5 separate regions of the Homo sapiens genome follow, and regions 2, 3, 4 and 5 are each linked to region 1. The links are contacts of gene promoters, found by promoter capture Hi-C in human tissues and cell types (Jung and others, 2019). All regions are on one chromosome and are shown on one strand. The core of a region is centred on a gene start or on the middle of the fragment in contact, and the rest is flanking DNA. Distances in the headings are between cores, read along the strand shown. Region 1 holds the start of ACKR3 (atypical chemokine receptor 3). Region 2 holds the start of LOC107986002 (a long non-coding RNA gene). Region 3 overlaps LOC105373949 (a long non-coding RNA gene). Region 4 has its middle 190 kb from the start of ACKR3. Region 5 has its middle 140 kb from the start of ACKR3.

Region 1 (5,334 bases), core at 253-2,752:
GGAGGTTGTGGCATTAAGCTCTGCAGTTGTGTGCACATTCAAGTGTTTATGGCAGAGACTGGGGAAAAAAGAGCAAATTGTTTCCAAGCTAGAGCTCCCATGTGCAACTTTGCTTTAGAAAAGACTTTCCATCTGGGGAAAGCTCATATTCTGATGAAAGAAGGGCAAGCAGTTTATCCATTTAAAATCTATGGAAAGTTAAAGCACAGAAACCAGCAGCCTCCACTTTCTTTGCTAGGCGTGCCTAGCTGATGTCCACATTTTTCCTGGAATAAATAAAGGGACACTAAAAGCAGCATCTGCCTTTAAAAAAGAAAAGAACAAAGTTACCATGTTGAGACTTTGCAGACTGAAGTTTCAGGGGATGTCACTGCACCAAATACATTCAAAGGGCTGTAAACCATTTAAGGAGGCTCTCTCCCACTTTTGAAACACTAAGTAATCCTGTTGTGAGCAAAAGGAAAGAAAGAAAGAAAGAAAGAGGAAGAGAGAAAGAGAGACAGCCAGTCTGACTTTTACAACTTCTCATTCTCCCTGGAAGTTACAAGTCTTGGCTAACCACCCATCCCTGACCTCACTCCAAAGTTCTCTCAGTCACTCCTTGAATCTTTGCACATGCCAACAAAATTGAACAAAATCCACATTTTACCTGAAGAGTATATTTAAATTGCAAAATAGTAGATTTGTGTGTGTGCTTCCCCCAACCCCAATTGAAGTTGGACTTAACACCTTCTAAGAGAACAATACTCAAATTAGATTAGCAAGCGTGCCATCAAGAGAAGAGAAGACCGGGCTGTGTTTAACATTCACGTTTATAGCTTCCGGACTTACAGACTCTGGTAAATCCCCCAAAGTACTGAATTCAAATACATCTTGGACTCACAAAGATTCTCAGCAGTTTTCTGCTCCATTTAAGGATGCCTCTTAATAAAGTGTTCATCATTCTGGAATTACGTATTTACTGCCAATTTTATCTGTTTCCAAACTGATATACTAGAAGCAAAACAGGTAAACAGTGGGTGCCAAGCTAATCCCCATGCCAAATTGGTCAGGCAGAATGGATAGTCTGTGTTCTTGCAAAGTTCCCCTGCTTACTGGAGCTTAAATAGCCACACAGCAAATAAACACCAGATTCCTAAATACACATGGAAATTTCCTTCTGCAAGTGACTTAAGAAAACTGCCCTTTGCTTTCTGAAGAGAAAGGTGAAGCCCTCCGAATTAGCAAAAGCACTTTGCAATGCAGCTGCGTGCAGCCTGGGTTTTCAGAAACCAGACCCGCAGACTCAAAAGCACCCATCTGAGCGATTTTAAAGAAGGCCTTTGAAAAGACCACTTGGCTTAAGAGCAGAAGCCGTGCCTTCTTTCCGAGCAGAGCTGCTGCCCGAGCACCGTTTCCTTACCTCCGGGCTGGCTGGGCTGGCTGGGCTGGCTGGGCTCGCTCGCCTTCCTGGCTGTGCTGTGCGCTGGCTCCCTTAGTGCTGAGCACTTTGCAACAACTGTGAGCTCTGCTGGCTGCAGACTTGCATTATATACACTGCAGAAAGGAGCCTCTAGCCTCTAGATGGCAGCTTTGTAACCCACATCTCTCTCTCCCCCGTGCCACCCCCATCCCACAGGCAGACACACACACACACACACCCCCCTCTTGTAAACCTCACTAGTCTGTTGTTTCCTGCACAAGTGTACTCTTGGGAAACCCCAGCCTTCTTTCATTTGCAAAATCTGGTGAAGCCACAAAGTCCAAACCCCACGGGGGGAAAACGTCAGCCAAAGACAAACTGCAAAGAAACCCTAGTGCTTGGCAAAATCATCAAATATTTATCTGGTCTCAGGTATATCTTGAATAATCCCATTAACACCAAGAGCTCCTGTGAATGCCTCTTCGCTCTAGGGAGGACTTTGTTCCCAAGACAAATTACTCTGAACTTCTGAACTTCGATGTTGATTTACTAAGCCTGGGTTTTCCTTGTTAATTCCTCCAAAACAGAAGTAACAGTTTTGGTATGACCAATGAATCGATGCCACACCGTATATCCCCAAAGTGGAGAAAAGAGTCTTTATAATAGATTATACTTGAATACTTTTATTTGTAAAGGACTTTAAGTACAAAATCCTTGAGACTCTAATCAAGATAGTATTCTACAGTGTCTGCCCAGTGCCAGACACGCATTAGGAAGATAATAAATGCCTTTTGATAATGTCTTTTTCTGAGATGAGTCTGGCAAACACTTTACTACAATTATTGCAATCTACATTCTTATTTGGATGCGTATTGCTAAAGTTCCCCCCACGGAGGAATTCAACCTAAAAATGTGATCCAGGTGATACTCATCTCCAATGCCCCATTTACAAAAATCGTCCATAAGATAGGGACCCAAAGGCCACCCGCCAGCCCATCCCATGTGCAATGCTCTGGCTTTCGTATTGCTTTCTGATCTCCTGGAGTTCTTAAAGAGCGGCTCAAGTGGAGTGTATGAAGGCACCAGCTGTATTCACGCCTTCTCCAGAGCTAAAACTTTTCGAGATTCTTTTTATACTTCTACTAAAAATAACAGCAGACGCTCGGTCCCAGCGCTGAATCTGGGGGACTGGGAGGTCAAAGTCTCACGTGGCTAGAAAGTCTCCGTGTGGAGAAAGCCCTTAACGAAAGAAATATTTTGTTTAGCTAAAAGCTTCACATTTTTCTCCTGAACTGGCTGCCCAGCGGGAGGCGAGGTGCACACCTGCTCTCCGGGGGCCTCCGGAGGGGTCGCCCTGGGGCCGGCCTTTCCCAGCCCGAGCGCAGCGTCCCGCCACCGCCTCTGCAGGGCGGCGCAATCACTCTTCGTGTCACATCGGCACCAAGGACATCTCCAGGCTCCCCAGAGACGCTGGAAAGGAAAACTGCCAGCGGCTGCGTCTACCCACACCCAAGATCTAGGCGAGACCTCGACTCTCCACAGCATACGTGTCCTGACTTTTTCTGTCCTGTTTCTTTCTTGTGGGGGACCCTGTGTCTGAGCCCGCTGGAAATGTACGGGGATCCCCTCTGGACTGCAGCTCGGTTTCCGCTTTCTGTGGCTGTAGCCGTGACTCCGGGGCCTGTCCTTCAGAGAACGCGCTCCGCATTGCAGAGCCTGCGCGCCCGGTGGAAACACAGAGTGGGTGTCAATCCGTTCTGAGCTAAGTGTACTGTCGCTGGAAGAAAGGCCACATGGGCCGGGGACCCCGGACAGGATGCTAACGTAGAGGAAGGAAAAGGCAACGCAGTTTTTTTAAAAAGTAGAACCCGCTTCGTGCGTCCGGGGCCAGAATCCACGAGGCCGCCTTGCAGCAGCCTGCGCCCTGCCCCGCCAGCCCCGGCCCCGCGCCCACCCACGGCCTGCACCCAGCCCCGCACCCACACACGGCCTCGCGCCCTCCCACAGCCCCGCGCCCTGCCCCGCACCCACCCACGGCCCGCACCCACGCCCTTCCCCGCGCCCAGACTTGTTCCGCACTCACGCACGGCCGGGCACCCGGCCCAGGCGCCTGCGAGAATTCTGGCCCCGGGGTCACCGCCCTCGCCCTTCGACGTCCCCCACCCGTCCCCTAGTTCCGCCGGGCGGGGCTGCTGGAGGCTTCCAGACGGGGAGGGGCGGACCAAGCGCCAGCGGGGAATGGGGCGGGGTGGGTCGGGAACTCTGGCCAGGCTCCCACCCTGGGAGGAGGAGCTGGGTGCTTGGGGCCTGAACTTGGCTGTCTCCTTGGGCCTCCCACCCTGTCCCAGAAAACAGGCCTGGGGGAAAACGAGAGGGTAAGCAAGCAGGGCTTTTTGAGAAAACGAGATTCCATTGCCCTAGGACCTAAAAGTCTCTTTTCAAAGTTTTGAAGAGTGTCTCTGCTTTTGGAAGATTGTGCTTTCAGTGTAAGGGCAGAACTCCACCTCCATCCTCTAGGGGTCCCGGCTGGGTCCGAGAATTAAATTGACATAAGATAGATGAATAGGAGGAAAGCATAGTGCAAGTTTCACGCGGCATGGGAGCCCTCATACAGAAATGCAGACCCGGCCGGGCGCGGTGGCTCAGGCCTGTAATCCCAGCACTTTGGGAGGCCGAGGCGGGCGGATCGCGAGGTCGGGAGTTCGAGACCAGCCAGGCCAACATGGTGAAACCCCATCTCTACTAAAAAATACAAAAAATTAGCCCAGCGCGGTGGCGCGCGTCTGTAATCCCAGCTACTCGGGAGGCAGGAGAATCGCTTGAACCCGGGAGGCGGAGGTTGTAGTGAGCCGGGATTGCACCATTGCAATCCAGCCTGGGTGACAGAGTGAGACTCTGTCAAAAGAAAAAGAAGGGAAGGGGGAAGGAAGGAAGGAAGGTAGGAAGGAAGGAAAGAAGGAAGGAAGGAAGGAAGGCAGGCAGGCAGGCAGGCAAATCCTCCTTGGGGAAAGAAAGAAAGAGGGAGAGACAGAGAGAGAAAGGAAGAAAAGACAGAGAGAGAAAGAAAGAAAAGAAAGAAAGAAAGAGGAAAGAGATGACGACCCGAACAAAGAAAGCAAGAAAGAAAGCAACAGAGAAAGGCAGGCCCTAGCAAAGAAAAGGAAGGAAGGAAGGAAGGAAGGAAGGAAGGAAGGAAGGAAGGAAGGGAAGGAAAGGAAGGAAAGAGGGACAGACCCGAGCAAGCAGTTCGCGTCCACTACTTAAATACTGGATTAAACAGAGAAGAATAAACTTTGAAAATGTGACTAAAAAGATTAGAGTGACGCTCTGCAGTATTCTTTAGCTGGCAGCTTCTAGTCCTAAGGATAAGGATGCTGTCTTCCTTCTGCTATGGGGAGAGTGATCTTGCACCTGCTGTTTTTCAAGTGCCTTTCACTGAAACAGTTACCATGCCAGAATGCATATTTTAACCTTTTCAGTAAGGTCCAATATAATGGTTCTTTTGGGTGGGAATGTGTTTGGTGGCACCTAATAGAAAACTCAGAGAAGGCACGAACAGGACGCTGTCCCTACCGCTGTCCCAGCTGACCCAGAACTAAAAGTTCCTGGATGTTTTGCTACCCCTGAGTGCTTATTGGAAAGGGGTCAGGAAGGGGTTTCAGCTAAGCTCCTCCCTCCTTCCCTGTCTGTAATCTGCACCTGGGGTTGCACGCCCCACAGGGCAGGTGGTCAGCTCTGTCTGCTCTGGGATCTGATTCGCCTGTAGATGTGGCACCACCAGGCTTCTTCCAGAAACCGCACCTGACTTAAAAGCGTGAGGATCCTGGCGGGCCAGAGCGGCGGCCGGTAGGGTCTGTGATCTGGGAGCCCCGTTAGAGTGGAGACAGTGCAGTTATGGTGACTGTGATATGAGCCCAGAGAGGCTCAGCTGC
Region 2 (5,334 bases), core at 908-3,407, 240 kb before region 1:
ACGAATGAAAATCTAAGAGGACAATTTCTCTTCCAGGGAAACTATTTAACGCGACAGTGCAGCCAGCTAAGCAGCTAGCCGTGGGACTCCAGGTTCACGGTGAAAGGATGGGTGGGATTTTCTCTTTCTTCAAATAAGTGGCTTCTGCTTTGTTTTCCCAGACTCCATGCTTCACTTAGGCTCCACGGTGGAGTCAAAATTCCAAAAGGTGCAGGTGATAGGGAAGGTTGCCCCACAGATGTAGGTGTCAGGATTGCTGTGCCAACAGAGGGAGGTGATCAGTGGATTACCCCCTGATGGGGCAGCTGGTAGGTAGGACAGGTTGCCCTAGAAAAGAAGGTGATCGGATGGGTCACCCTGATGTTGCAGGTGACAGGATAGGTTCCCCACCAAAATCAAGGGAGGAGTCTTTAGGGAGCAAGACTGTCATTCTAGAGGCAGCTGAACCAGGGCTGGGAGGAGACCGTGAGCTAGGCTCCCTTAACACAGGGATGGTGTGAGCCTGGCTAGGAGGCACTGTGCAGGGCCGACAGGACCTCAGATGGGGCAGCATGACCACCTGTGAGGCCATGAGACCAGTGAGTGTCCCTCTTTCATGCTGAAACATTGGAGAGGGAGGGACCACGGGTGGGGGATGGAAGGGTCTCACTCGGGTTCCTAGAGCAGATGAGCAGCTGCAGCCATCGCACAGCTAAAGACCACACTCACCACGGCATCCTGGAGCCAAGGACATTACAGTCAATGCTCAGATGAAGGGAAAGGAACCATGGCTTTTCCCCGTTGTTGTTCTGGGCACATGGCACTGGGCTCAGGGAAAGCAAGAAGCCTATTAATGCCATTAATGGCAGACACTTCTTGCCAGCCTTGACGAGTCGGTACTCAAAACTGAATTTAATTCGATTTAGAAAAAACAAGTGCACCTTGTCCCCTTTTATATAAGGAAATGACCCAAACTCCAAGCCATATAAAATGAAGACTATAAATATTTCACTGTAGAACCAACTTGTTTAAATGGATGTGCAAAGAAGAAAAAATTATGCTAAGTCTCCAGACCCACCTGGGCCTCTCAAAGGCAAGGCTTCCAAGGTCCATGTTTAATTGCTCCAGGTGGAGATGATTTCAGTTCCTCACAGTTCCAATCAGCTTCCATAGCATCTTCCATTCCACATGACCTGTTTTTTAAATTGTTTTCCAGTAGGTGAATTAGGGTACAAGGGGAATACATTTTCTGTCTTTGCTGCACTGAAAATGTAATAATTTTTTTTTTTTTTGACGGAGTCTCACTTTGTCACCAGGCTGGAGTGCAATGGCACGATCTCGGCTCACTGCAACCTCTGCCTCCTGGGTTCAAGCGATTCTCCTGCCTCACCCTCCTGAGTAGCTGGGACCACAGAGGCACCACACCCAGCTAATTTTTGTATTTTTAGTGGAGATGGGGTTTCATCATGTTGGCCAGAGTGGTCTCGGTCTCTTGACCTCATGATCCATCTGCCTTGGCCTCCCACAGTGCTGGGATTACAGGTGTGAGCCACCATGCTTGGCCAACAATGTTATAATTTTGACTTCACTTGATGGATAGTGTTGCTGGGTATAAATTTTCAGGTTCAAAGTAATTTTCTCTTAGAACTTTGGCATTATTCTTTATCTCATGATGCTGAGGAATCGGAAATAATCTGAATTTTATTTTAATCTCTTTATAGCTAACCTGTTCTTTCTCTCAGGAAGCTATTAAGATTTTTTAAAATTGGCCGGGCACAGTAGCTCATGCCTGTAATCCCAGCACTTTGGGAGGCAGAGGCGGGCAGATCACGAGGTCAGGAGATCAAGACCATTCTGGCTAACATGGTGAAACCCTGTCTGTACTAAAAATATAAAAAATTAGCTGGGTGTGGCCGCATGCACTTGTAGTCCCAGCTACTCGGGAGGCTGAGACAGGAAAATGGCGTGAACCCGGGAGGCAGAGGTTGCAGTGAGCTGAGATTGCGCCACTGTACTCCAGCCTGAGTGACAGAGCGAGACTCCGTCTCAAAAAAAAAAAAAAAGATGTTTAAAAATTATGCTCAGAGTTGTAAAATTTCAATAGCACATACCTAGGTATTGGTCTTCTTCTCTTCCTTTTTTCATTACTCTTTCTTGGTGCTTGGTGCTCCCCCCTCCCTTTTTTAAATAAAAAGTGGTATTTTTCCTAAGCTTAATACATTTTTCTTCTATTATTTTTTCCCTCCGTCATCTGCTTTTTCCTTCTGAGACTCCTGTTACAAGGATATCAGATGTCCACAGTATATTTCCATTTTTATGTATTCCAGGCATATTTCTACCAACCCTTTGTTTAAATATATCTAGTAAATCAAGATTCACTGCTTCTTGACAGTGTACTCACCACTGTGAAGCTCTATTTATTAAACATTTCTTTAAAATATTTATTTGCTGGGATTTGGGACTGGAATGGACAATAAATAACATTCTTTCTCTATTCCTCATTATTTACCAGAAATCCTCCTCCTAGTAACTTGTTGGTTCTAGTTCTATAATCAGAATTGCATAGAAGACCTCTCCACTTAAATTACTTTATACACAATATCCCTCTTTAATTGTTTTCAGGGCCCGCTGTGCCCCTGTTCTTCAGCTGTTCCTTGAATTCCACAGTTTGCACATCCATCCTCTTGGCACCTCCCCGGTCCCTCAGTTATTACTGTCTGCGGATGTACACCACATCTGCTGCTTGGCCCCACGTTCCGGGAAGTGATTCCACAGTTTCTCTAAGCCTGGACACTTAGTCCCTTTGCACAGAAAGATACCCTCTTTTTGTCCCTCCAGCTATTTCACATCAAAATTATGATTTTTTTATTCTTTTCCTCTTCCAATCTACAGACCATTGTTCTTGTTTAGGGAAACAGGAATTAGGAGCCTGGGGCTCTCCTCCCAGCTTTGCTATTGAATAGCTGGGTAATCTTAGGCAGTGCACTTACATTTTCTTGGCCTCGGTTTTCTGAATTAGTGTACTTCCCAGACACCAGTCCAGGGACTGGGGCCAGTAGCAAAAATGATTTTATGACTGCATAGCTAAATGAAAACCCTGGAGACAAGAATATGTGTGCATTAAAGAACTTACTCATGTGCCCAAATACCATCTGTTCCCCTAAAACCTATGGAAATAAAAAATAAAAATAAAGTGACAAACAACCTTAGACAGAACTCTCACCATTTTAAATCTGATTAAACTCTATGCCAAACAAGGAAGAAAAAAAAAAAGACTATGTGTGCATGTAATTAAAACTGCTAGTTTGTGGAAATTTCTATTCTTTATTCTGATATCATAACTTTCTAATGGGATTTTATGAGTGTATGTGTGAGAGAATACACACATTAATGAAATCATCATCATAATTATTTACAGTTTAATTTTTATCTTATATGAATAAGATATGAGTAAGGAAATATCTTTATATGAGAAAATTCGAAGTTGATGATTGTATTGTTGCCATCCACTTTATCTTGCTTGTTGTATTTAAGTGGTCTCTTAAATCCCAAAGTCCAATAGTCAATAAATTAGACTTTGTATAACAGTTTTCATATCTAAAACTACAGAATTATTTTACAATAACTACTAGGTGTCTAATATTCTTTTCTAAAGACATTTTCAGCAATGATTTCCAAAATCTTTGCATAAGTCCACATGAAAAACTCCTTCAAATTTGAATAAAGTCATTAATTTGATCTTCTTTGAAGAAAGATACTCTTTCTTTTCCAAGAAAAAAGTTAAGTTTTTTCCTTTCCACATTGTCCATTGGGAAGCTCAGACCTAAATGTACTGGGATGTTATAGGAACCTTTTTATGTATGTTCTGTATGTTTACTTATGTTTTATTTCTCTCCCTTTCTGTTACTTTTGGTCTATTTTTGTTTTTAAAATCTATTTTTATTTTTAAAACCTTTTAAACAAATAAGCTATACCAAAACCTTTTTGAGATAAGGGCACAAATAACAAGTACAGAATAAAAGAAAAAATTTTAACGTAGACTATAAACACATGGGCCAGGCGCAGTGGCTCACACCTGTAATCCCAACACTTTGGGAGGCAGAGGTGGGTGGATCATCTGAGGTCAAGAGTTTGAGACCAGCCTGGCCAACATGGCAAAACCCTGTCTCTACTAAAAATACAGAAATTAGCTGGGCTTGGTGGTGGGTGCCTGTAATCCCAGCTACTCAGGAGGCTGAGGCAGGAGAATCACTTGAACTGGGAGGCGGAGGTTGCAGTTAGCCGAGATCATGCCACTGCACTCCAGCCTGGGCAACAGAGCGAGACTCCATCTCTCTCTGTCTCTCTCTCTCTCTCTCTCTCTCTCTCTCTATATATATATATATATGCACACACACGAATAAAAAATTTAACAATCTTGAGCAAGAAATTCATATGAATATAAATTGATAATGATTATATGAAACAAAATTTAAAATTATTAGTAATCAAAGAACTGCAAGTTTACACAATAGGAAGATACACTTCCCCATCCCTCATCCCAAAATGAAAATTGGTACAACTTTTCTGGCAGACAATTTAGCAAAAAACACCAAAACTTTAAAATGTGCGCGGCTCTTGACCCCAGGCTTCTACTCCTTGGCATTCTTTCTAAAGAGCATGATTAGGGGTGTGTTTGATGTATTAGTTAAAAATATCATTTTAGTCAGGATGGTGATAAGAAAAAAATTTGTAACCAACCTGAAGGTACAATAACAGCTCTGGATTTGTCCAACAGCTCTGGATAATGCACTCCAGCCTGGCCGACAGAGCGAGACTCTGTATCAAAAGAAAAACAACAACAAAAAAGGCCACGGGGTTTTACACAGAGGTTGCTTCCCACGGGGTTGCAATCACCTGGTAAGCCCCATTCTGGTTCCCACCACCTAACCTACACCTTTGCAACTAGCCACCTTCACAGTCCTTGGGCAACCGTGTGGCACCATTTGCTGCTGTTACCACCCAGAAGCCGCAAGGAATGAGAGGAGGGGAGAGGAACAGGAGCCCAGGGGAAGGCACTTGGTGTGGAAGGGCAATGGGATGCCCGTGAGGGAAGCAGATGTCTCCCGCATAAGAAAGCAGGAGACGCGCAAGCCCAGACCCTGTGCTCCTGCCTCTCTCTCTGACCTCTGCCCGGGAATCCCCATTGACGGATCCCAGCCCGAAGCCAGAGGGTAAAGGAGCCCCATGCTGATCACGCAGGCCCGCGCCCAGCACAGGGAACAGAGGGAGACAGACGGGAGCAGAGGGGCTGTGCTGGGCCAAATGGCCGGCAATGTGCCGAGCGGTGCTCAGCACTTGGGAGCACTCAGAAAT
Region 3 (5,334 bases), core at 922-3,421, 210 kb before region 1:
TTTCTGCCTTTCTATCATGGAAGCATAGGAATGGAGCTTCTGTCAGCCAGGGTCTGTGAGATGGAGATGAGTCCATGCCCCCAACCAGAAAGCAGTGGACATGTAGAAGGACAGGGTGGAGAAGGGGACAAACAAATGAAAACAAAGTTTTTAATCCCTTGATATTTTGGGCTTGACTGTTACTGTAGCATAGCTTATCTGGTCCTGACTGATACAAACATCCAGCCATGGGATAAGCAGTAGCAGCCCAGAAAGAAACCAGGCAAGACGGTCCTCTTCTAGGTGATCTACCAGCTGTGTCTGCCTAAGGCGCCATAAGAGGGGAGAAATGGGAGAAGGATCTTGAAGATAAGCAGGACCCAGAGGGCCATTAGATAAGGCATGTGAACGTGCTGTTCGAAGAAGCAAATAAAGGAAAGGGTGGGAGGGAAGAATTGTATCTGTCAGTAGCCAGGCAACATTGGAAAATATCTGGGAGTAACAGCAGCCAAGAGATAACAGAATTGGAATTTGAAAGAAAATGAAAACGATCACACCCAGAGGAGAGATCTGAATAGACTAATGAAATATACTTGAAATGTACTGTGTGTATTGTTCTGTGAGTCAGAGTCCCAGCTCATCCACTCACATGTTGTGCTGGAGCACCATGAGTACTGGAGAAGGAACTGAAGAGACCGTAGTTCCAAGAGTGTGATTATTGGGATGATCCTGTCCTGCAGGGAGGTGGGGTCCTGGTTGGCTAAGAGAGTTCCAAAGACTATCAAGGCACAAAGTAATGTGTTTTCTTTTGTTTGGAGGAATTCTAAAATAGCTTTTTGTTTTACTTATCTGTTGCTGTACAGCAAATTATCCCCCAAATGTGGCTTAAAACAATGAATATATCTATTATGTTACCTTTCCTGTGGGACAGGAATTTAGGAGTAGATTGGCTGGGTGCTTCTAGCTCAGGGTCTCTCTTGAAGTTACAGACAACTTGTAGCCATCTGGGCTACAGTCCTCCAAACGCTTGATCGAGGTGGGGAGTCCACTTCCTAGACCATGGCTCACTCACATGGCTGCTAGCAGGAAGCCTCAGTCCTTGCCACGTGGGTCCTCTATAGAGCTGCCGGAGCATCCTCACACCACGGCAGCGGATTCCCCCAGAGCCAGTGATCCAAGAGAGAGCAAGGAGGAAGTCAGGATGCCTCTTACGACCCAGTCTCGAAGTTACAAACCTTCACTTATGTCATCTTCCTTTGTTAGAAACAATTTGCTAAGTCCAGCCCACAATCAAACGGAAAGGAATTAAGCTCCATCTCTTGAAGGGAGGAAAAGCAAAGAGGTTGTGGATGTATTCTTAAGCAATCACACTCATGCATGTCTTTTCTTAGTGTGGTAGACAGAATAATGGACTCCAAAGATGCCAACATCCTAATCCCCTAAACCTATGAATATGGTATCTCACATGGCAGAAGGTGTCTTTTGACACACCCTGAAGGTGTCAGTGAGTTCAGAAGCTCGAGATGGAGTCATTATGCTGGCTTACTTGGATGGGCTCAATATAATCACAAAAGCCCTCATAAGAGGGAGACCCTCATAAGACGGTCAGAGTCAGAGAAGGAGAAGTGACCACAAAAGCAGAGATGGGAGTGATATGAGGAAGAGCCCATCAGTCAAGGAATGCAGGCAGCCTCTAAAAGCTGGAAAGGCCGGGAATCAGAGCTTGCAGAAGGAATGCAGGGGTCAGAGGATAAATGTGTTTGTACGTGTGTGTGTGGTTTTTGTTTTGTTTTGTTTTGTTTTGTTTTTTTGTTTTTTTTGAGATGGAGTCTCACTCTGTCGCCCAGGCTGGAGTGCAGTGGCACAGTCTCGGCTCACTGCAAGGTCCACCTCCCGAGTTCACACCATTCTCCTGCCTCAGCCTCCCGAGTAGCTGGGACTACAGGTGTCCACCACCACGCCCGGCTAATTTTTTGTATTTTTAGTAGCGACAGGGTTTCACCGTGTCAGCCAGGATGGTCTTGATCTCCTGACATCGTGATCCGCCCGCCTTGGCCTCCCAAAGTGCTGGGCTTACAGGCGTGAGCCACCACACCCGGCCAAATGTGTGTTGTTTTTAAGCCATCGAACTTGCAGTAATTTGTTACAGCAGCAATTGAAAACAAAGACACTTAGCAAGTGTTTACTGAACACCTACTGCGTGATGAGCATACAAAACCACAGGGGATATAGAGGTGAACAAAAGAAACAAGAGGGAGGAAATAAACCAGCAAACATGTTCAGGTACAAAACAAATCGATGGCTGATCATTTTGATAAAGACAATCATACCAGGTGGTGTGAGTCAGCCACTGTGAGTGGGTGGGAAGCAGCTATTTGAGATGGGATGGTCAGAGGCAGACCCTCTGTGGGATGAACGGAGGCCTTGCAAATATCCCAGAAAGGAGTCCAGAAAGAGGAAGCAGCCAAGTGCAATGTTCCAGAGGCAAAAATGATCTTGTCTTATTCCAAGGAGAACAAACAGAGTGAACAGCGGGAGATGGGTGGGGGCCGGGCTGAGCAGAGTCAAGTGTCCTGGGGCACCCACACCCCATGCTGCTCAGGGCAATGGTGTGGGGATCCACGTGAAAATCCCTGCCACTGCTCTATGGATGACGATGATGAGGGCAGAGTGGACACTGGGAGGGGAGTCTAGAAACTGCTGCAAGAGCAGAGGCAAGAGATGAGAGGGTTAGATTGCAGGGGAGGGGGGCAGTCTGCAGAGTGTACAAGGGGACTTTTTGCCCCATTTTCAGCAATTCCCATGCATAGAGTCTGTTTCTTCAGAGGAAATAGTGCCAATTTTTTTTTTTTTTTTTTGCCAAGCAGTTGCATTTGTTTTGACACTTGACTTAATTACCACATTTCCGAAAGAAAAAAAAAAAAGAAAAGATAAAAACCACCATTTTTGGCGCTTTGTCCATAATAACAGTTCAGGATATATTTTTTGAGTGAGAGTGTGAATAGATGGATGATGTGGACACTATCTGGAAATATGGATCCCGTTGGCCAGATTTCTTGATGGAAACTATGGCTCTGACAGCATGGGTTTCAGAATGACAGGGTCAAAGGATTTGTCAACGATACCTGTGGCCAAGCATTCACGGATGCCGACCATGTGGCTTAAGGTATGAGTCATTGCAAAACATTCCAGTATTTTTTAAATTACATCACTTTAAAAACCAATTACATCAGTTACAAAGGGCATGTGCGTAGGATTTCTGCTTCTCTTTAGTATTTTTGTTCTTACTGGCAATGGTTTCTACTCCTGACTAGTGGCTTTAGAGAGCTGCATGAATTAATTCACTTCTTATAAAATAAAGCATATTTGTACTCAGAATCCTAAAGCCACATGGATTTCAGAAAACAATTTCTTTGGAGCTCCTAGAAAATGATGGAATCAATAATGTAACAGACATGGGAACTGACAGAAATGTTACTGTCCCACAAAGAGCTCCTTCTACTTAAGTATTTCTGTGGCAGCCCGTACACTTTATGTTTGTTTTAACACAAGGACTAATCAAAGCTACATTCCTTAGTGAACACCAGAATGGCTCAGCTTTCTTATAACACAATTTCTTGCAGTACACATGTAAATTGATCAAATGGAAAAAGCAAAAGTAGGGAATCTGGTTAAAGTGCTGAAGTATTGCCTCTCTTCTTCCTTGCAAAGCAATTAGCCCAGCAGCATTCCATTTCGTCTCCTATTTTGCTAAATAGACAAAATCTGTGCTTCTACTCTATAGCGAATAACTCCTGGGGATATTGTTTCAAAGAGCATTGATTCAAAGAAGGAAGGTGAAGCAAAACCTTGACTAAACAGATTGCTGATGGACTGTGGTTCTGGATAATTGAATTTTCCAGTTAACCCAAGAACTCTGTCGCTCTCTGGCCTCCCTCACTCACCCGGCATATCCTCCTCGCCCGGGAATTTACCAAAACACAGCTGTGGTCTTCGCAGTTGCTTGCCCACAACCCTTTTGTTTTTGTGCTCTAATTTGCTTGAACATTCACTGTGAAGTCCTTTTGTGTCTCAGAAACGAATGTAGAGAGGCCGTAGGATGAGAACCCGCCCCTGGATCTCGGCTGACTTTCTGGGTTTGATGCGGACCTTTCACCCGTGCTCAGGTCATCTCAGTCCATTCTCACACACCTTCTGCAGGTCAGAGATAAAATTAGAGCTGCACGCCAGGATCTCAGTGAGGTAGTGGCAGTGATTATGATGGTGGAAAAGGTAGGGGTGGGAGGGAAGCCAGGCGCAGGCAGACAAGGAGGCCGTCCTCTAGGGAAGAGGTCACGAAGAAAGTAACTCCTAGGGATATTGTTTCAAAGAGCATTGATTCAAAGAAGGAAGGTGAAGCACAACCTTGACTAAAGAGATTGCTATGGGCTGTGGTTCAGCAATGATGAGGTGCTGGGGATGGTGATGAGGGGGGACCAGATGCAAGGAACTTTTTAGAAATGGTAGTGACTTTCTAGAAGCAGCAGCTTTTGGGCTGGCAGAGGTGACTCTGGAAAACAAAGACAGGTGATATCCCCAGAGGTAGATTGTGAGTAGGAACAGAAATAGGAACCAACAGACAAGAAAGGCACAGGGCGAGGGAAAGATGCTGACTTCATCCAGGACACACAATTTTGGTGTCTGTGGACCAGCTGGGCTCATTGGCTACTTAACCTACCTCAAATCCAGGGTGAGCCTTGACAGAGACTCCAGAGATGGGGAAGCAGATGTGAACAATGACACAAGCTTGAGGCTGTAGAATGAGGACGAGTGTGAAGGGAGAGGGAATAGAGAAAAGAGAAAACATCAGCAAAGGCAGAACCAAGAGCTTTCAGTATTTCTGTAAGGATCCTTTCCTTATTATGTGACTAGAAAAATAGTTAAGTCTCAGAATGCCTACAAAAATGAATTTTGGAATTAGATCCTCAGTCTTGGATTTATTCTGTTTTCACAGAAATATATAATATACATAATATGTATATCAAGCTTGTCCAACCTGCGGCCCTCGGGCCACATGCAGCCCACAATGACTTTGAATGTGGCCCAACACAAATTCATAAACTCTTAAAACATTATGATATTCTTGAAATTTTTTTTAGCTCATTAGCTATCATTAGTGTTAGTGTATTTTATGTGTGTATGTGTGGCCCAAGATAATTCTTTTTTTTTTTTCTTGAGACTGGGTCTCACTCTGTTGCCCAGGCTGGAATGCAATGGTGCAATCTTGGCTCACTGCAACCTCTGCTTCCTGGGATCAAGTGATTCCCCTGCCTCAGCCTCCTGCATAGCTGGGATTACAGGCATGTGCCACCATGC
Region 4 (5,334 bases), core at 1,600-4,099, 190 kb before region 1:
GAATTACCACCGCACACTCATTGTGATGACTATTATCAATTAAAAACACAGAAAATAGCAAGTGCTGGCAAGGCTGTGGAGAAACTGGAAAACATTTCTTTTGTACTACTGTGGGATTATAAAATGGTGCAGTGTGGAAAACAGTATGCCTATTCCCCAAAAAATTAAAAATGAGATGACTATATGACCCAGCAATTCCGCTCCTAGGTATATGCACACAAGAAGTAAAGCAGAAACTCCAACAGATATTGATACACCCATGTTCACAGCAGCCAATAAGCAGAAGCAACCCAAGTGTCCATCAGTGGATGAATAGATAAATAAAATGTGGTCTATATTCTTTTCTTCCTTAAAAATAAAGAAAATTTTGATACATGCCACAATATGGATGGATCTCAAAGCCATGTTGCTAAATATGCCAGTCACAAAAGGACAAATAATGTATGATTCCTGTTACAGGAGGTACCTAAAATAGTCAAATTCATAGAGACAGAAAGTCGAATGGTGGGTTCTAAGGGCTGGGGGAGGGAGAATAGGTACAGAGTGGGGAGGAAGATGAAATGGGTACAGAATGGGAAGATGAAAATGTTCTGGAGATAAATGGTGGTGACGCTGGCTCAATAATATGTATGTGCTAATGCCACTGAACTGGACACTTAAAAATGATTAAAATGGCAAATTTTGAGTTACGTGTATTTTACTACAATTTTCAAAAATTTTGGTGGGTTAAATTCAAGTAACGAATGTAAGAACAGTTTTGCTTTTGTACCAAGAAACAAAAGGAGTCACTAATCCATCCAAGGGTAATTGCTGTGTTTACGATCTCTGTTTCCCTCCCTCTTCTTTGCTGGGCTTTGTAGCATGTTGTTAAGGAGGTCTCTGATATTCCTTTGTTCCATGAACCAATTACCAGTGTTCACAGGAGAAAAGAAGCCCAGCTGCTATGATACCGCCTTAAGATGGACAGAGGGCTTCTAACATCAAAAGTGATGCCTAGTATTCTTGGCAGTGTTTATTTACTAACCTGCCTTGATGGTCCTGAGTCCCTGAATGGCAGCCCCAAACACCCACGTGTCTGGATAGTCCCACACTGGGGCAGAGTACTGTGAGCCTAATATTTACCTGTGAACCACATGGGTCAAGTTTCTCTTGCTTTTTTAAGTGCAAAACTGTTATAAAACTGGTCTTAGTCTTTTCATAAGACACACATTGAATAGAAAAGTTGACTAATTTTTTATTTCAAAACCTGGTTTATTCTATGCTAGGGTGGTCCTCATCACTCCGTTCTCTGATCCTGTTTATCAAGTTTTGCCTTTAAATGCCCTTCAAAGACTATTTATGGGAGTGGGTTTAAGGCTTTGAAGATTGTTTGTTCTTTCAAGAGATAGACACATTTAAAACCCCTGTCACTGGACCCAACTGATGTGGTCACATGGCTCAGTCCAGGGAGGGTGGGATTTGTCCAGCTAAATGGGAAATATGACAGAGATTAAACTCACTGTAAACAAGAGGGATTAAGAGCCCAGAGCTGGGGGGCAGGGTGGGATCAAATGGCTTTGGTTGTCAGAGAATAAAGGCTCCTCAGGAAGTTAAAGAAATGCCTTTGCAGAGCCCAGTGCTGTCATCTTAGGCTATGCTCATAAAATCAGCCATCATGTACTTAATGGAACCATAAAACAGACAAAGGGCACAGGCAAGAGCGTCTGCACTTCCAAAGCCAGAAAGAGCCAACGTTGAGGGCCAGCTCAGCCAACATCTCTAGACGCTTTAAGCTGGACACTCAATGAGCTGCCTGTCACTTTTTGGCAATAAAGGCCCACTAGAGAGTATGTGCAGCATCATGATCACTTCTGGAACTGGCTCTCAAGCACCTGAGGGTGTTTTTCTGGAAAGAAAACTTTAGGAAGAGGGTCTTTCCCAGTTGATTTTCTCAGCATGCATCTTCAATCACATACTAGCAGGTACAGATGTACCCACTACCACAATCTCTCCAGCACGAGGCTTTTTCATGGTGGGGTTAGGAGGTTGCAGGTACAGAGAGAGGGTCTGCACACAGCCAGCTGAGGGCTACACCTTGTAGGGCCAGGTATCTAGATCCTATGGCTGTGTGCAGAGAGTTCAGCCCAGGCCTGAGACCTCTCTGCCTAGCTGGCCAGGAAGCTTGTGGTCTCCTGTCTCCTTTTGAAAATAACAAAGACCAAAACAAACAAACAAACAAAACAGAGAACACCTCCACTAACACCTGGGTGCATAAACTTGCCAGTTTCAACATGAACAGGGAAAAGGAAACTGGCAAGTTTATGCACGAAGGCATCCCACGCCTTTGCTCCAGCTTTGTGCCTGGGAGCTGCTATGGCAGGGATGGCAAGGGAAAAGGTGCAGGAGTAAGGGAGATGGGCCAAGCCCTGGGAATTGGCTCTTGTGACTTGGAGGGCAGAGTCACTTAGCAACATAACCCTGGAGGTAAGAGCAGGCATTTTTTATGGATTTCCTAGCCTCATTGCAGAGGGAAATGGAGAAGCAGAGAAGGAAAGCAGAGGCTTAAGGTGTCTGAAAGGCACCTGTCAGGAACATCTGGAGGTCCCTGAACAAGGTCTGGAATAATCTGGGAGATCGCATGGGAAAGGGGTGCCGATATGACCAACATCAACCATCCCCACCTTTCCAACATCACAGATGGACACGTACACACACTGCAGCATCTGTTGCTTGCTGCAATTCACTCAGCAACCCTAAATTCGAACAATTCAAAGCAACCCCGAAGTCCCTAAACTGGGGAATAGATAGCTGTTATGTTGCAGCCACTCAGCTGTTATGTTGCTCGAGCTTTTGGGTTGAGCAGGGCATGTGCCACCTGAGTATCTGACATCCAGGGGCACAGGAATTGCACAGCAAAAGTCAGCTCCCTGTAACCTATGTGCCCTAAGTCTGCTACTTCAGATCAGAGAAGGCAAATGGAAGGCTTATGCAGTTAAAGGGAAAACTCTGCCCCTTAAGCACCTTTGCTAGGCCCAAAGCCTGACAAAGTGTGGTCTGTTGTCATCCCGCTTCTGAGAAGACAAATGCTGCACGTGGAAACCATATGTGGTTTGCAAAGAGTCCACCCATGTTATTTATTGTACATGATAGATGCTAGGACACTGCATCTGAAATTTAAGAAGAAACACCAATGACCACATCGCTAAATTCATATTTTCTAAAGAAGGGTGCACGAGGCACACACATTTTCCAACACCATTAGGAGCTCCGGGGCTGCCGCTAGTGGAGTGATTTGTGCAGCCTGCCTGGGCTGTCATCTCACCCAGTGAGTGATGAGACCCAATTTTTCCAACAGAAGGGACAGGCAGAGTAAGACAAAGAACACTATGTAAAATCATTAAAAATCAGAAACTCTTAAAATTATACTCTTTTTTACTGTTAAGCTTTACTGACATGCATATGAAAATTTAGAAAAATTGATGGAGTTTTAGGTGCTCTGATGCATAAAAATCAGCTGATTGTGTCAGGATACACTTAGCAAATGGGATTCACATGCTGGCTTTCATTTGCTTTATTCTGTGAAAAATGCACACGAAAATTTTCTATCACCTGCTCCCTGTGAAATTAAGGCTTTTCTCTTAAAAATGTGGCCAAGAACTTGGGAATCTTGTCCTTGTGGGAACAGTGCACAACCACATCCAGAAGGCAGCAAACCACTTTGCTGAATTTTCTTTACAAATGTCCAGTGAGGTAAACTGTTTTCAATGTGTTTCTCAAGACTTACAAGTACTGTATTCTATTTACTGCAGATATTCGAAACACATGGAAAGCAAGAAGAAAGATAGTTAAGGGGCAAAAAAATTAAATCTCCTGACGCAAAACAAACCTTTATTCGCTTATTCCCAAATTGAAACCACAGTTATGTTTAGAAGATGAAAAAGAAAAGAATAAACTTTGCCATCTCTGTGGCGTCTCCTAGTTAGAATTGCCGTGATATTGATGAGGGGCTCACTTTGCTGAGGCATGTGAGGCCCTGAGGGTGTGAAATGTGAGGAGGTGCTGCCTTGTGGGCTCTGCACATTGGCACCTACCCACCACAATGTCAGCATGAACCCAGGGAGCACAGGGACAATGCCAGGTGTCCTGGGGACAGTCGGCAGCATCCCAGTGACTTCCCCTCATACTCTTGGGGCCAGAAGGGAGGGAAGACCTTAAAGGGACAAATGGGGCCTGCCCTTCCAATCCTACATCTGAACCCTTATATGATTATGATTTAAAAAAATATGAAACGCATCCTCCCCTGCTTTTATCTCAGGCCTCCAGGATGTTGGGGAGCTACAGTGATGGGGGTTTTGTGGAGTCATCATCCTATGTCTCAGCAGGTGACGTCATTAGGCAGGGACCCAGCCATCCCGGAATCCAGGATTCTGGTCAACTTTATTGCTACTGCCCAGGGCAGTCACTCATCACTCTCTGTCTCCACGAAAGTTGCTCCACCCCTGACAACAAGCCTCTTCTCCATAAATCACCAATCCACCACACCCTCCGTGAATGAAAGGAGTTGAGAGCAGCCACCAGACACCAGTGCCTTCACCAACCCTCCACACATAGGACCCTCACCCACATCATCCTTCCACCCAGGACAGATTTCCACCGTCTCTAAAGCCGGCCTCTCTCTCTGGATCCTGGATTCCATCTCTTCCCAACACTCCAGGCTGGAATTCATTCCTACAAATGTTTCACCAACCACTACCACTGCCAATATGCCTTCAAACACACACTTCACACCAGCAATTTATCTTTTATTCAAACTCATATTCCAAAATATGATAAAAGTAATGCATGGACATGGTAAAAATATTTCACTCAGTACAGGAAGATGTTAAATGAAGAGAAAAAGTTATTCCTCCATTCCCCCTGCTCCCCACCCCACAGTGCAGAGACAACCTCTGTAAGCATTTCCGTTTGAGTTCTTCCTGGGGCTGTCATTACAGCACTGAACAATATACTTACACATCTGTGTCCAAGCTCATCACCCATGCCTGGTAGGCCTTGGCACTTCCTTCTCTTCTGAGAGATGAAAGGCACATTGCAAGTATGCTTCATCCCTCCACCTGCCCTAGATTTTGTTTTGTTTAGCATCTTTAGTGTTTCTCCTATTCACCCTCTGCACCTCTAAATTATATGCTTCAGATAGGAGTTCTCAGCCTTGATTGATAACCTGAGTGACACATGAAGAATTTTTAAAATACAGAGAAAAGTCCTTCCCTCCTCAGACCAGCTAAACATCCCTGGCATCTGTAGTGAAGGTTTTACATCATAGAGATGATTCTGATGAGCAGCCAGGGGTGAAAA
Region 5 (5,334 bases), core at 1,126-3,625, 140 kb before region 1:
ACATGGGAATGTGTGCATGGGTATGTGTTCGTGTGCATGGGCATGGCCAGGGAGCAGTCCCTTGACCCCCAGGACTTGCTTCAGCAGGGGCAGTTAATTGTCAGGTTGACCAGATGGTCATACTGGGATGTTCGTGTATCTTCTGTCCAGGACAACCTTGCTCAAGGAGGGAACTAACACTTTTGCTCTGACCTGTAAGTGTCAACTAACACTAATAAGCAAATGGACCCATTGGGCCTGGCATCCTTGGGAAGCTCTACATTGTGAACTGATGCCCAATTCAGCTGGGGAACTGGGCTTCACGGCAGCAGCAACCGAGCACAGCAAAATCAAAAGGTAATTATCAGGCCAGTCACAATGGCTCACGCCTGTAATCCCAGCACTTTGGAGGCTGAGGTGGGTGGATCATCTGAGGTCAGAAGTTCGAGACTAGCCTGGCCAACATGATGAAACCCCGTATCTACCAAAAATACAAAAAAAATTTAGCTAGAAGTGGTGGCAGGCGCCTGTAGTCCCAGCTACTCAGGAGGCTGAGGCAGAAGAATCACTCGAACCCGGGAGGTGGATGTTGTACTGAGCTAAGATGGTGCCACTGCACTCTAGCCTGGGTGAAAGAGCAAGACTCCATCTCAAAAAAAAAATAAATAAATAAAGGCAATCATAACCCTGCCCTGTGTACAGCTAATCTGCTTTGAGCTAAATTATTGAACTAGAATATCACTACCAAAAAGGACAGCAATTAATTGTAGAAAGTGTTAATAGAAAACATTTGAGAATAGTTTGTTTATTTACAGGACGAACACTTTCTAAAAAGAAATGGCTTATGGTAAAAATATAATATAATCAAGAACTTCATGATATGACCATGTTTCCATTATATCTGAATGTCACCTAAAACTTTTACTAAGATTATTTCATTCATTTAGCAAATATTTATTAAGAACTACTAGAAATCAAGAAAAGCAAGCCTAAAGCTGAGTATTAGGGACTGTTATGTCAAATATGTAATTTTAAAAAATATATAAATCAGGCCAGGCTCAGTGGCTCACTCCTGTAATCCCAGCACTTTGGGAGGCCGAGGCGGGCGGACCACTTGAGGTCAGGAGTTCGGGACCAACCTGGCCAACTTAGCAAAAGCCCATCTCTACTAAAAAAAAAAAAAATACAAAAATTAGCCGGGCGTGGTGGCGGGCACCTGTAATCCCAGCTACTCGGGAGGCTGAGGCAGGAGAATCACTTGAACCAGGGAGGCAGAGATTGCAGTGAGCTGAGATCAAGCCACTGCACTCCAGCCTGGGTGACAGAGAAAGACTCTGTCTCAGAAAAACAAACAGACAAACATAAACTTGTCCTCTCACTGGTTTGTTCATAATCTTCAGTGGCTCTCTCTTATCTCTCAGGAAAGGTACTGTATTAGTTTATTCTCGCATTGCTATAAAGAAACACCCGAGGCTGGGTAATCTATACAGAGAAGAGGTTTCATTGGCTCACAGTTCTGCAGGCTGTACAGGACCCATGGTGCCTGCACCTCCTCAGCCTCTGGGGAAGCTTCAGGAAAACTCACAATCATAGGAAAGGCAAAGGGGGAACTGCAGCTCACACGGCAAAAGCAGGGGCAAGGCAGGCAGGTGCTACACACTTTCAAACAACCAGACAGCACAGTAACTCACTCACTGTCACCGAGAACAGCACCGAGATGGCGCTAAACCATTCATGAAGGACCCGCACCCATGATCCCATCACCTCCCACCGGCCCTACCTCCACCACTGAGGATTACAATTCAACATGAGACTTGGGCGGGGACACAAATCCAAACCATATCCAACTCTCTCCTGTGGTCCCTGAGGCCCATAGGGTCCCACCGATGTCCCCTCTTTCACCATGCCCCAGCCACCTTGTCCTATTTCTCCACAGCTGGGATTTTGGAACTTTTTCTCTAGAAGACCACTCAGTAAATATTTGAGGATACGTGTTTCGTAAGTCTCCATCACAACTATTCAGCTCTGCCATTGTACCACAAAAATATCCACAAACATTTGGGTGTGGCTGTGTTCCAGTCAAACTTTGCTTGTAAAAACAGAGAGTGGCCAGATTTGGCCCGCCAGCCATAGTGAGCTGACCTGCTCTTCCGACTCCAGGCCTGGTCCACACTCCGCCTGCCGCTGAGGTAGCCTCTTCCTTCTTGCCTGGCTAACACTTGCTCTTCCGTTGGGTTTCAGTAAATATTCCTGTCCCGGAGAGCTCTTCCTGGAGACTTTAGAATGGATTCTGTCTTTTAAAACAATTATCCCAGCTGTAATTCAAGAAAGAGAATGTATGTGTGTGTGCATGTGTGCATGTGTGTGTGTGTGCATGCGCGTGTGTGCCTGTGTGTGTGCATGTGTGTGTGTGTGTGTGATAGTTCAATGTCTGCCTCTCCATGAGTCACCAGGGAAAGCCAGCTTCACTCCCCATACTATTCTCAGCGTGGCACCTGGTGGAGGCTCAATTTATATCTGTCGATCAAATTGATAACTCGATGGAGTCATTTGATTAGAAAACTGAGTGGCTGCGTAAAAGCTAGGCCAAGTTTGCCTCCTTGATCTGACCAAGCCTAATAAATGGAAGTATGAGTCGATCCTTCTGTGGCTTCTCCTCAGCTCCCCTCCCCAGGCGAGGCGATGGGATCGAGGCCATTGGTGGTGCCTTCCTGTCCCTTGAGTGAGCTCTCTGTGGAGCACGCCAGCAGCTTTTTCCAGGTCAACGTTCCCCTCACCAGCCCTGGGGCTTGGTGTGAGTTATTGAGCTTCTCTGATCTTCCATTTGCTCTTCTGTAAAAGCGAGAACCACGCTCATCTCATGGGTCTGTTGTGAGGATTAACGCGTCGACCTTCAGGGCCTCAGGATTGTTGGTGTGAAAAGTACATTGCGTCCCATGATTTAATACATCAGATTTTCCTCTGTGTGGAAAATCTATGGTAGGCCCTGGAAGACCCAAGAAGGAAAAAGCCAAGAACGCCACTGACATTTCAGATGAAGAAGGGGAATCAGCGAATAATGATTTTCTCTGTAAAGATCTCTTTAATTACAGCTGGGATAACTGTTCTAAAAGACAGAATCCGTTCTAAAGACTCAGGAACGAGCTCCCTGGGAAACGAATATTTACTGAAACCTAATGGAAGAGCAGATGTTAGCCAGGCAAGAAGAAAGAGGCTACCTTAGTGGCAGGCGGAGCGTGGACCAGGCTGGTGTTGGAAGAGCAGGTCAGCTCACTATGGCTGGCGGGCCAAATCTGGCCCACTGGCTGTTTTTGTAAATAAGGTTTTACTGGAACACAGCCACACCCAAATGTCTGTGGATGTTTTTGTGGTATGATGGCAGAGCTGAATAGTTGTGATGGAGACTTTACGGAGCACTTAGCAAAAAATGTTTACTGTATGCTCTTTTAGAGAAAAAACATTTAAAAACCAGCTTATTTCTCCCTTCTTAGCAACATCAGATCTAGCTAAAATATTTTTCAGGAAAAATATAGGCAGAATTTGATATAAAATATATTTTCATATCTATCACAGCTATATTTATAATAGAGAAAAATTAGAAATAATCTGTGTCTCAAGTCAGGGAACAGAGTATGTAGATCATGATGCATTCAGGAAACAGGCCAGGAAAACAGGCCAGGCAAGGTGGCTCACACCTGTAATCCCAGCACTTTGGGAGGCAGAGGTGGGTGGATCATTTGGGGTCAGGAGTTCGAGACCAGCCTGGCCAACATGGCGAAACCCTGACTCTACTAAAAATACAAAAATCAGCCGGGCGTGGTGGTGCATGCCTGTAGTCCCAGCTACTCGGGAGACTGAGGAAGGAGACTCACTTGAACCCAGGAGGCAGAGGTTGCAGTGAGCTGAGATCACATACTGCATTCCAGCCTGGGTGACAGAGCAAGACCCTGCTCAAAACAAACAAACAAACAAACAAAAAACAAAACAAAACAGGAAAACACTTGTGTTCTAATGTTAAACAACAACCAAAGCAGGTTAAAAATTACCTACATAGGGATTTCATTTATATAAGAAAAAATGTATTTAAAAACACAGATTGTAATAAAATATTAAACATGTCTTCTTCTTGTTAGTGATATGATGGCTGATGTGTGTATGTGTGCATGTATGTATGTGTGTATGTGTATGCATGTGTGTATGTGTGCATGTGTGTATGTGCATGTGTGCATGTGTGTGTGCATGTGTGTATGTGTATGTGTGTGCATGTGTGTGCATGTGTATGCATGTGTGTATGTGTATGCATGTGTGTATGTGTGCATGTGTGTATGTATGTGTGTGCATGTGTGCATGTGTGCATGTGTGAGTATGTGTGCATGTGTGCATGTGTGCATGTGTGTATGTGTGCCATTGTGTATGTGTATGTGTGTATGTGTATACATGTTTGTATGTGTGCATGTGTGCATGTGTATACATGTGTGTATGTGTGCATGTGTGTATGTGTGTGTGTGCATGCATGTGTGCATATGTGTATGTGTGCATGTGTATGTGTATGTGTGCATGTGTATGTGTGTATGTGTATGCATGTGTGTATGTGTGTGTGCATGTGTGTATGTGTGCATGTGTGTATGTTTGAGTTTATGTGTGTGTTCACTTTTCTGTATTTCCCTAATTTTCTACCCTAAGCAAATATGGCATTGATGGCCAAGAGAGAGGAAGTTTGTCTGATTCTGATATATGGCACCCCAGACAGAATGTGAATGAGATGGAGAGGTACCTCTTCCCAGCCTTTAAAGCCTACCTTAGACATTGAAGGGTTAAAAACTCTGGCATGAGGACTCCCGCGTGGACATCAGGCTGTGGAAGGTGCAGCCAAGTCATGGCCATTGCCACCCTGGCCACCAGCGGATTTCAGACTGGGCTGCCGGGTGCAGGTGAGGGCATTGGCTCACAGCCCAGTTCCGCAGAGCTGTGCTCTAGGGAAGGGCAGGCCCACCTGTGGGGAGCTCTGAACTGTTCTGTCCCTGGCTACCTGCAAAGGGGTGTGGGGGGGCTGCTGCCCTCTGCCAAGAGCAGAGCAAGCCCAGGCTTCAGGACGAACTGCTGACCTTCATCATGACGCATGGGCCTTCCACTCACATCTTATTAAATCCCCAAAATACGCCTTGCAGGCTGCCGCTGTTATTGTCCCCATTTTTTCCTGATAAGAAAACTAAAGGTGAAAAAGACTCAGTAAATGGACCAAAGTCTCACAGCCAGAAGTTGAATCTAGGCTGAATCCACTCTAAATTTCTCAACCTTCAAGCAGGGGACAACAGCCCTCTCTTCTCGACCTGATTCATAAGCTTCTCTGCTGGG

What was found. Contacts are between HindIII fragments. The study calls those that stand out against the background at their distance.
Region 2: a contact is called between a fragment that was not itself captured here and the fragment with the promoter of ACKR3 in region 1, in 1 of the 25 tissues and cell types used here (liver).
Region 3: a contact is called between a fragment that was not itself captured here and the fragment with the promoter of ACKR3 in region 1, in 1 of the 25 tissues and cell types used here (stomach).
Region 4: a contact is called between a fragment that was not itself captured here and the fragment with the promoter of ACKR3 in region 1, in 1 of the 25 tissues and cell types used here (bladder).
Region 5: a contact is called between a fragment that was not itself captured here and the fragment with the promoter of ACKR3 in region 1, in 1 of the 25 tissues and cell types used here (bladder).

Annotation. Positions count from the first base shown.
Region 1 is chr2:236,565,993-236,571,326 of GRCh38, reverse strand. It overlaps ACKR3 (atypical chemokine receptor 3), which reads right to left and starts at 1,502. Exons shown (of 2, transcript NM_020311.3): 1 at 1,403-1,502. RefSeq lists enhancers at 2,266-3,141, 3,142-4,017 and a silencer at 3,443-3,492. The HindIII fragment of the contact is 7,550 bases long and covers 1-5,334 here.
Region 2 is chr2:236,803,668-236,809,001 of GRCh38, reverse strand. It overlaps LOC107986002 (a long non-coding RNA gene), which reads right to left and starts at 4,800. Exons shown (of 3, transcript XR_001739954.1): 1 at 4,720-4,800; 2 at 1,058-1,172; 3 at 247-327. The HindIII fragment of the contact is 9,709 bases long and covers 1-5,334 here.
Region 3 is chr2:236,780,987-236,786,320 of GRCh38, reverse strand. LOC105373949 (a long non-coding RNA gene) reads right to left here. Exons shown (of 5, transcript XR_924026.3): 5 at 4,928-5,334. Among named protein-coding and RNA genes, the nearest start is that of ACKR3, 210 kb to the right of the region's middle. The HindIII fragment of the contact is 7,217 bases long and covers 1-5,334 here.
Region 4 is chr2:236,761,910-236,767,243 of GRCh38, reverse strand. No RefSeq gene overlaps it. Among named protein-coding and RNA genes, the nearest start is that of ACKR3, 190 kb to the right of the region's middle. The HindIII fragment of the contact is 3,834 bases long and covers 933-4,766 here.
Region 5 is chr2:236,706,081-236,711,414 of GRCh38, reverse strand. No RefSeq gene overlaps it. Among named protein-coding and RNA genes, the nearest start is that of ACKR3, 140 kb to the right of the region's middle. The HindIII fragment of the contact is 6,573 bases long and covers 1-5,334 here.